Linked DNA regions of Homo sapiens: region 1 is linked to region 2. Evidence: promoter capture Hi-C in human tissues and cell types (Jung and others, 2019). All regions are on one chromosome and are shown on one strand. Each heading gives the region's core, a stretch centred on a gene start or on the middle of the fragment in contact. The rest is flanking DNA. Distances are from core to core; before and after follow the strand shown. Region 1 has its middle 81 kb from the start of NEBL-AS1. Region 2 holds the start of SKIDA1 (SKI/DACH domain containing 1).

What was found. Contacts are between HindIII fragments. The study calls those that stand out against the background at their distance.
Region 1: a fragment that was not itself captured here is called in contact with the fragment with the promoter of SKIDA1 in region 2 in 1 of the 25 tissues and cell types used here (dorsolateral prefrontal cortex).

The regions. Positions count from the first base shown.
Region 1 is chr10:21,091,117-21,094,663 of GRCh38, forward strand. It overlaps a transcript of NEBL not described here. Among named protein-coding and RNA genes, the nearest start is that of NEBL-AS1, 81 kb to the right of the region's middle. The HindIII fragment of the contact is 3,576 bases long and covers 66-3,547 here.
Region 2 is chr10:21,523,699-21,527,755 of GRCh38, forward strand. It overlaps SKIDA1 (SKI/DACH domain containing 1), which reads right to left and starts at 1,984. Exons shown (of 4, transcript NM_207371.4): 1 at 1,849-1,984; 2 at 1-173. RefSeq lists enhancers at 1,376-2,019, 2,020-2,663 and silencers at 2,319-2,738, 2,859-3,008, 3,454-3,573, 3,584-3,903, 3,763-3,921. The HindIII fragment of the contact is 2,515 bases long and covers 804-3,318 here.

The sequences.
Region 1 (3,547 bases), core at 604-3,103, 430 kb before region 2:
TGGGTTCAAGCCTCCATCATCTCTTTCCTGGCTTACTAACATAGCCTTTGACTGCAGTCAAGAAAACAAGTTCGTGTTTCACATTTAGCTAAGAAGACTTTAAATGTCTACACATGCAATTCCATTGTTGGGGGCCGGAGGTTGCCCCTTATGAAACATCTTGGTTATAAAATTTTCCTGCCAGAACATTTGAACTTGGATTCTCATTTTCCTCAAAAATCTTAAGAGTTCATGTGTCTGGGCCATTTCAATACATAAATAAAAAAGAATAAAGCATCAAGGATGCTAGCTAGATGTTATGTTCTTTCTATCACAATGAAAAAAATGTATGAGACAAATAGGCAGCCTACAAAATACACTGTTAACACAAAACAAAAATACTTCACTTCTTTATCCAATTAGCTATCAGTACCTCAAGTTTCCTCTGAAATTCTCCCAAATTCAGTCGTTGTTCTTCATCTCTCCACTTGAACTTATTAATTCATGCTTAGATTGCTACTTTCATTTTATTATATTATTTGGGGGATGGGGGTCAGGGTCTCACTCTGTCCAAGGCTGAAGTACAGTGGCGCAATTATAGCTCACTGCAGCCTCAAACTCCTGGGCTCAAGGGATCCTCCCATTTCAGGCTCCCAAGTTGCTAATACTACAGATGCACGCAACTACACAAGGCAAATTTTTTTATTTTTATTTTTTGTAGAAATGGAGTCTTGCTATCTTACCCTGGCTGATCTTGAACTCCTGGACTCAAGCAATCCTCTTGCCTCAGCCTCTCAAAATGCTGGGATTACCGGCAAGAGCCACCACGCCCACCTTGTCACTTTCAGATAGTTTTTTCTCATCTTGCATTTGCTATTGATATTTTTACCCATAGCTAATTTAACCCTATAACATATCTTTTTCTTCTATTTGTTAAGGGCGATTTTAGTTATGTCGTATCTTACAGAGTATCAGCAACTACAGGCAATCTGATAATGGAAGAGTTCTGTTCTCAATTCTTCATCAAGTTGTCCAAAGATACATTAAGCAGAACTGGTCGTTATGTGCTATCACTACTCATATGGTCTTTCATTGATTGTGGGAACAAGGATACATGTTCTACGGGTGTGCCATTCATTCATTCATTCATTCATTGATATGCCATTACTACAGTCAAGAGAAAGCACCAGCTTCCCAAAGTTAAAATAAACATATCTAGTACTATCCCACTGTTTGCCTGTGCTTCTAAATATAGAAGGCAGTTAGATTGCTCTAATACCATTTAGTTTGTGCAAAACCCTGTTTTTTACTATGTTCCTCTAGAAGTAACAGTAAATTATGTGATGATTTATTCCGATATCACTTCATGTATTTGAAGTTCGTCTGACCTGCCTATAATTTCCCTTGTCAATCTATTCTGGCTGTGTGTTTTATAAGCTAGTCACAATACTATATTTTAATTCACATGGACTTCTTTTTACCTCTATAATTTAATAATAATAATAATAATAATAATAATAATAATAATAATAATGGCTCACCACCAGAGTAGCACCTGCCAGTTCCTTTAGTAGCCAACAGGCCTTACTAATACAAATAGTTCCAGTTCTTCAAAGCACTTTTTAACTCTTTTTCTATTTTGACTCTCTACTTTCATCAAACCTGGGAACTGTTCCAGGCCCCTTCACATCTGATATTTCTTATGAAGAATGAATCGAGTAAGGCATTAAAAAGCCTTTGCCTTTTCACCAGCTTATGTTATCAGCTTTCCCAGCCTGTCCATCAGAGACCCATGCCAAGCAACTTGTGAAATTATATTACTCTAAAGTCTTTCTGGAACTTTCAGTAGCTAGCCCATATGGACAGGATCCAAAGTGGACTCACAGTATATTTTCTCTGATGTGGGAACAGTTTATGACAAGAGAATAATGAAAATCTAAATTGCCTTGTACAATTTATTGTATTTTATTTTTGTTCTTGGCTTCTTGCGTATCTACCAAGGAGAAAAGAGGAAATAATTTTTTAAGAGTACTTTTATTCATTTAGCAACAAGTCTTTTTTTTTTTTTTTCCATTTTAGCAGAGCCAAATGAAGATTCTTCAAGATATGGTATCTTTTCACTTGGCTGTTTCTGCCTGGGTGACTCAGAGGATAAGTATTTGGGAAAGACATGAATGGTAGTGCCAGGGTCCACCAGCCCAGAAGCATTGGACGCATTTTATCATAGGACCATGAGTTGGACAAAATTTTATAGGTGAGAAAAAAAGAAATGGGCTGGAGAAGGGAGACTGTCATCTCTCTTGGCTTGCTCTGTCTCCTCCTCTCACCCATCAAGTCAAGGGAACCAGACGCCCAAAGCCAAGTTCATCAGTCCCTCCATCGGCACTGAAAAAATCCATCAGTGTTCATAAGCTGCTAAGCTTGTGTAAACTGAATGCCATCTCCAAATTTCCAGTCTTGCCAACAAGCTGAAACAGGAGAAAGAATATGCAACCAGATGGGGGTCACAGCATTTTAAGTGCTTTCTTCAAGATTAAGAGTTGGTAGAACCAAGAAAAGGAAAAGACATACAGAATGTCTTCAGCTCATGTATCCACAGATCTCTGTCTTGTTCAGGTATATCTAAGCTCATCCACTGGAAGAGGAGAACAATATTTTATCCTGAAAAATCTACTGCTTCGTAAACAAATCAATACATTTCTTGTGAAAATCTTTTATAAAAATGTCCTAGACTGGTTTCCTTAGCCTTCATTGCATGTGTTACTCATGATCCATGAATCACACAAAGTTCTCACTGACCTTCTTTTCTACAGAGATATTTTTTGCGGGAACCAGAAAACATTTTGTCGTTTTTGTGAAAGACTATTTTCCATTCTAAGCTTTCCATAGAAAACTATATTTATCTGTGGTTTGACACATTAAGCATCACTACTCAACTTAATTTGTTCTTATGGGTCCTTAAGAGTCTAAAAAAGACCGGGCTGGGTGTGGTAGCTCACGCTTGTAATGCCAACACTTTGGGAGGCTGAAGTGGGAGGATCACTTGAGGTCAGGAGTTCAAGACCAGCCTGGCCAACATGGCAAAACCCCATCTCTACTAGAAATATAAAAATTAGCCAGGTGTAGGCCGGAGACGGTGGCTCACGCCTGTAATCCCAGCACTTTGGGAGGCCGAGGTGGGCGGATCACGAGGTCAGGAGATCGAGACCATCCTGGCTAATACGGTGAAACCCCGTCTCTACTAAAAATATAAAAAATTAGCCGGGTGCAGTGGCAGGCGCCTGTAGTCCCAGCTACTTGGGAGGCTGAGGCAGGAGAATGGCGTGAACCACAGAGGCGGAGCTTGCAGTGAGCCGAGATTGTGCCACTGCACTCCAGCCTGGGAGACAGCGAGACTCCGTCTCAAAAAAAAAAAAAAAAAAAAAAAAAAAAAAAAATTAGCCAGATGTGGTGGTGGAGTGCCTGTAATCCCAGCTACTCGGAGGCTGAAGCAAGGGAATCACTTGAGCCTGGGAGGCAGAGGTTTCAGTGAGCTGAGATTGCCCTAATCCACTCCAGCCTGGATTTT
Region 2 (4,057 bases), core at 734-3,233:
CATACTGAAATCCTGAGCCACCACGAGGGGAGAGAGGAGAGACAAGACATGAGGAGCCTGATGGTCTCTGGAAAGGGAATCCTCTTCTGGTTCTGTTCCCCTGGCTTCAGCCCAAATCCTTCTGGGAGCACTGGAGCCAATCACTGTCTTTCACTGCTGCAGCTACTGGGAACCTACAAAAAAGCGGGAGATAAAAAAAAAAAAAAAAAAATCACAAGTTCGAATTTATGGATACACAAGTATCATTTCATATTCATGACATCAGCAAATCACATCATAATCAGATTTGAGCAAGGTTTGGACACTAAGACCCAAAAGACTGGACACTCAACACTGACAGTATCACATATTAACCAGAAAATTCGCTTTTTTGTTATGGAATCATAGGGTGAAAATTAAGTCTTTTAACTTTGAAAAGCTTACTTTTCACTTCTGAGGCCAATTTTTACACTAATAAATTTCAAGTAAACGTCTCTTTTAAAGTTGTTCCACAACATTTTAATTCAAACTTCTATTTCCTTTCTCAGTTGGGGTAGTGTTTTGTTTGTGTTTTAAAAAAACACATGGCACAACAAACGTTATGGAAAACGCACTCATTCCGTTAAATGCCGATACAAACCTGCCTTTTACTACATCTGTCTAAGCAGCGCATTGCTAAGTATAAACTTAAAAAAATTTTTTTTTCTCAAAGACATATCTATTATTTCTTGGCAAATACTATTTGGTGATGTGGTGCAAAAACACAATGGTAAAAAATTTCGGGGTATTTGTAAGTTTTCTGGAGAGTTGCAGGCCCCTTTCCTTTTGAAAGTTTAGAGCTCCAATACCCTCAATTCTACTGGCAGAATTAGGATGGACTTAGAGGGTCCTAAACGTGACCGATTCACTAAGGCGGGGGGGGGGGGGGGCTACAGCTTGCAGCAACGTGCTCTGCAACTTAATCCTACGCTAAAAGAGGGCAGAGAGCGAAAAAGAATGGAATACAAACTCTCCCGACATCCGTAGTTACTTTCAAGGTGGATTGTGTATTTTAAGGCTGATGGGAACGTCTGGTTTGTGGAGCAAAAAGAAGAGAAGGTAAGTGTTTGTCCTTGTATCCACCAGTTCGTAGAGAAACAATGAAAGAACAAAGGGAACCACTTCCCCATCTGAACATTTTCTGTATCTCCCTCCGTTTCAAGCCAAAAAGCTTGGGAAGGGATTCGCTTTACTCTACCTTAAGTAGTGGTTGCTGGCTTGTTGAACTAAGAATGAGAAAAAAGTTGAGAGGCAGATATAGACTAAATAATAATAAAAAAGGCTTGCTGTGGCGGATCTCCACCGCGCCAGTGTCAGCAACTTGCAGCAGAAGTTGCTCAATGCACGGAGGCAAAGCCCAAGAAATACCCTTTGCACACCAGATTTCGAACTCAGTCATTTAAATAGACTTTCTTGCTGTTTGAAGGGGTTTCTGCGCACAAAATGTGTAGGTAGTGGCTATGGGAGAGATGTACTATTTAGGTCGAAAAATGATCTCATGGCTATCTGGAAAAGAATTTTTAAAAAGGAAAGGGGATTCAAGTATCACGTTACTGTTTGCTAATAGAAGAAATGGCAGCACTGGCTGGGAAAGGAGAGGGATTCGTATTGAAATGCATTTGCTTTGGGGTACGCTGGTTATCCGCAAGTCTGGCTTTGTGGGTCTGCGTGGCTGAATAAGTGACCAAGTGCCTTCGGCATTATATAAACGGATCGATGTGTGCGGGAGTCCCCAAAGCCGTCGAGCACGTGAAACGCGACTTTTTACTGCCCTCCAAGCGGCGACCAAGCCCCGCTCCACCCCACCCCGCCTCAAAATCCGTATATTACCTGCCCTGTTACAGTGACACATGTTTATGTTTATAGTCCTGGTTTGTAGTAGTGTCAAGAACCGCAGCAAGAGGAAGGGGAGGAGAGAGGAGAGGGAGGAGTAAATTCAACCACCCCCACTTGTTGTTAAAGCAAATTTACTGCGTTATTGCAAGCTCAGGACGGGGGGCTGGGATGAGAGTTGAGAGGAAGGGTTGAGTTGGGAAGTGTGTTGGCGGTGGAAGGTGGGGGTGGGGTTAAGAGCTCCGCAATGGAGCTCCTCTCCCCAGCAGCCCAGGAAAAGCAGCTCGGTCAATAGGGGAGCATGCTGGCGCGGTCGAAAACAAAAAGGTTCCTCCTGCTCGCTGCGTTCACGTGGGGGGCTCTGCACGCGGGGCTCCAGGGCCGTGACCCCTGACCCCGGCTCCTCTCCGCGCTCTCCGGTGCCGCGCGGCCACTTTTTACCCAGGATCCCTCGCGCGGGCCGCGCTCGTGCCGAGCTGGAGTCCTTCCTAATCCTCCATTCCCGGCTCTCGCTCCCCGCCCCCGCCGCCAGCCCCGGGGGAGGATTCTCCGGCGGGGAACCCCCGCCCCACCCCCACCCCGACTGCCCCGGCGGAGTCGGCCGCAGCGAGTCCGCGCGGGGCGGGGAGGGCCGGGCCGGGCCTCCCCTACCGCGCCGGGCCTGCGAGGGAGGGGAGGGACGGGGAGCCGAGGGGAGGGGGCGCCGGCCTCCCGGCTCAGCTGCCCCACTGAGGCCTGGACCTGTTGACTGCGATTGGCCCGCCTCATCCCGCGCCCTCTCTCTGCTCGCAGCGGCCCCAGCCCTTCCGCGGCGTCGCGGGGAGGAAATGGGGATGGCTGTCCTCCTCTCCGCCTCCTTCTAACTTTCCTTTTTTTATTTGGGTGTGTTGGGGGGGGTGCTGAGAAAGCCCAGGCAACTCCACCGCCGCCCCATCCTGCCTCCGAAAGTCTCGTCACGCCCGACCCGCCGCCGCCCTCCCAGCCCCCATGACTTAAAACCGCCTCCCCTCCTCGCAGCGGCGCCCCGGCCCGGAGCCCGAGAGCCCTCGACGCCCCCGCCGCGCCTCCCCCGCCTGGCCTGGCCCAGCGGCGTCCCCAGCGAATTGTGTCGCTTTTCTGCCCTGGAAGCTCCCTCGGCCACGTTCCACTTTTTTTCCCAGTCCCAGGAGGCGTAAGATAAAACCTCTGATTTGCTGCGTGCTGCCGGGCACATTCTCTGCCCTCTCGTCCGAAGGACGAGTTTAAAATGGAGAGTTTAAAATAATAGCATTTACAGGAGGAAATAAAGAGCGAGGAGATGGTTCTTTGGCCGGTTTTAAGACATACATGCTTTTTTTTTCTTTTAATACAAGATGTCTTAAGGGTTAAAAGCGTTCTAGGGTTTGCTGTATTTCCTTCTAGATTTGGGGTTTCCTGAGGAAATCTTTTCCGGAGGGAAATAGCAAATCAACATTAAGATGGAAGCGAGACTTCTCAGCCACTTTTGGAAATGAAGGGGGAAATTGTAAAAATACATTCAGAAAAGGGCGCGAAGGCGGCGGCTGAGGGGAAGAAGCTGGAGTCTTGGGAGGAAGCGCAGTGGGTTGGAATCGGGGGAAGGAGGGCCCGCTAGGTCCGGGCGGGGAAGAAGGCGTGCGGGCGGCGGGGCGTGCGCCGGGCCGGGCAGCTGGAGGAAGGCGCGGCGGGACTGGCGAGCGCGAAGAGGCAGGCGGGGAAGGCCTCGGGGGGCGGGGGCCGGGCGCGGGGCCGGCGCGCCGGAGGAAGCGGGACCTGGCTCCTCGCGCCCGCCGGGCCGCCCCCATTGTTCTGCCCTAGCACCGCTGTTAGCCGAGCACGTCCTGACCGAGGGAGGGGCCCCGCGGGCCAACCCGACCCCCGTCGGCGCCTCCCCGGGCTCCTGAGCTCCGGCCGGGTCGGGTCGGGCCGGCGCGGCAAGTTTTGATGGTCAGACTCAGCCAGCGAGGGGTTCCCAGCTGAAGACCTCGGAGGAAGGAGCCTTTACAGCGTGCTGCGAAATTGAAGGAAGCCGGGCGAGCCTGCAACGCACACGTTATGAGAAAAAGGGAAAGCAACATAGATATGTTTATAAAGTGATAAATAGATAAGAGACACCCGTGGGCAGTTATTATTCTGGATCCGGAAAGTTACAGTAGATTATATAATATTTGAAATATCTTGAAAAGTATGGATTCAAAAATCCATTTAA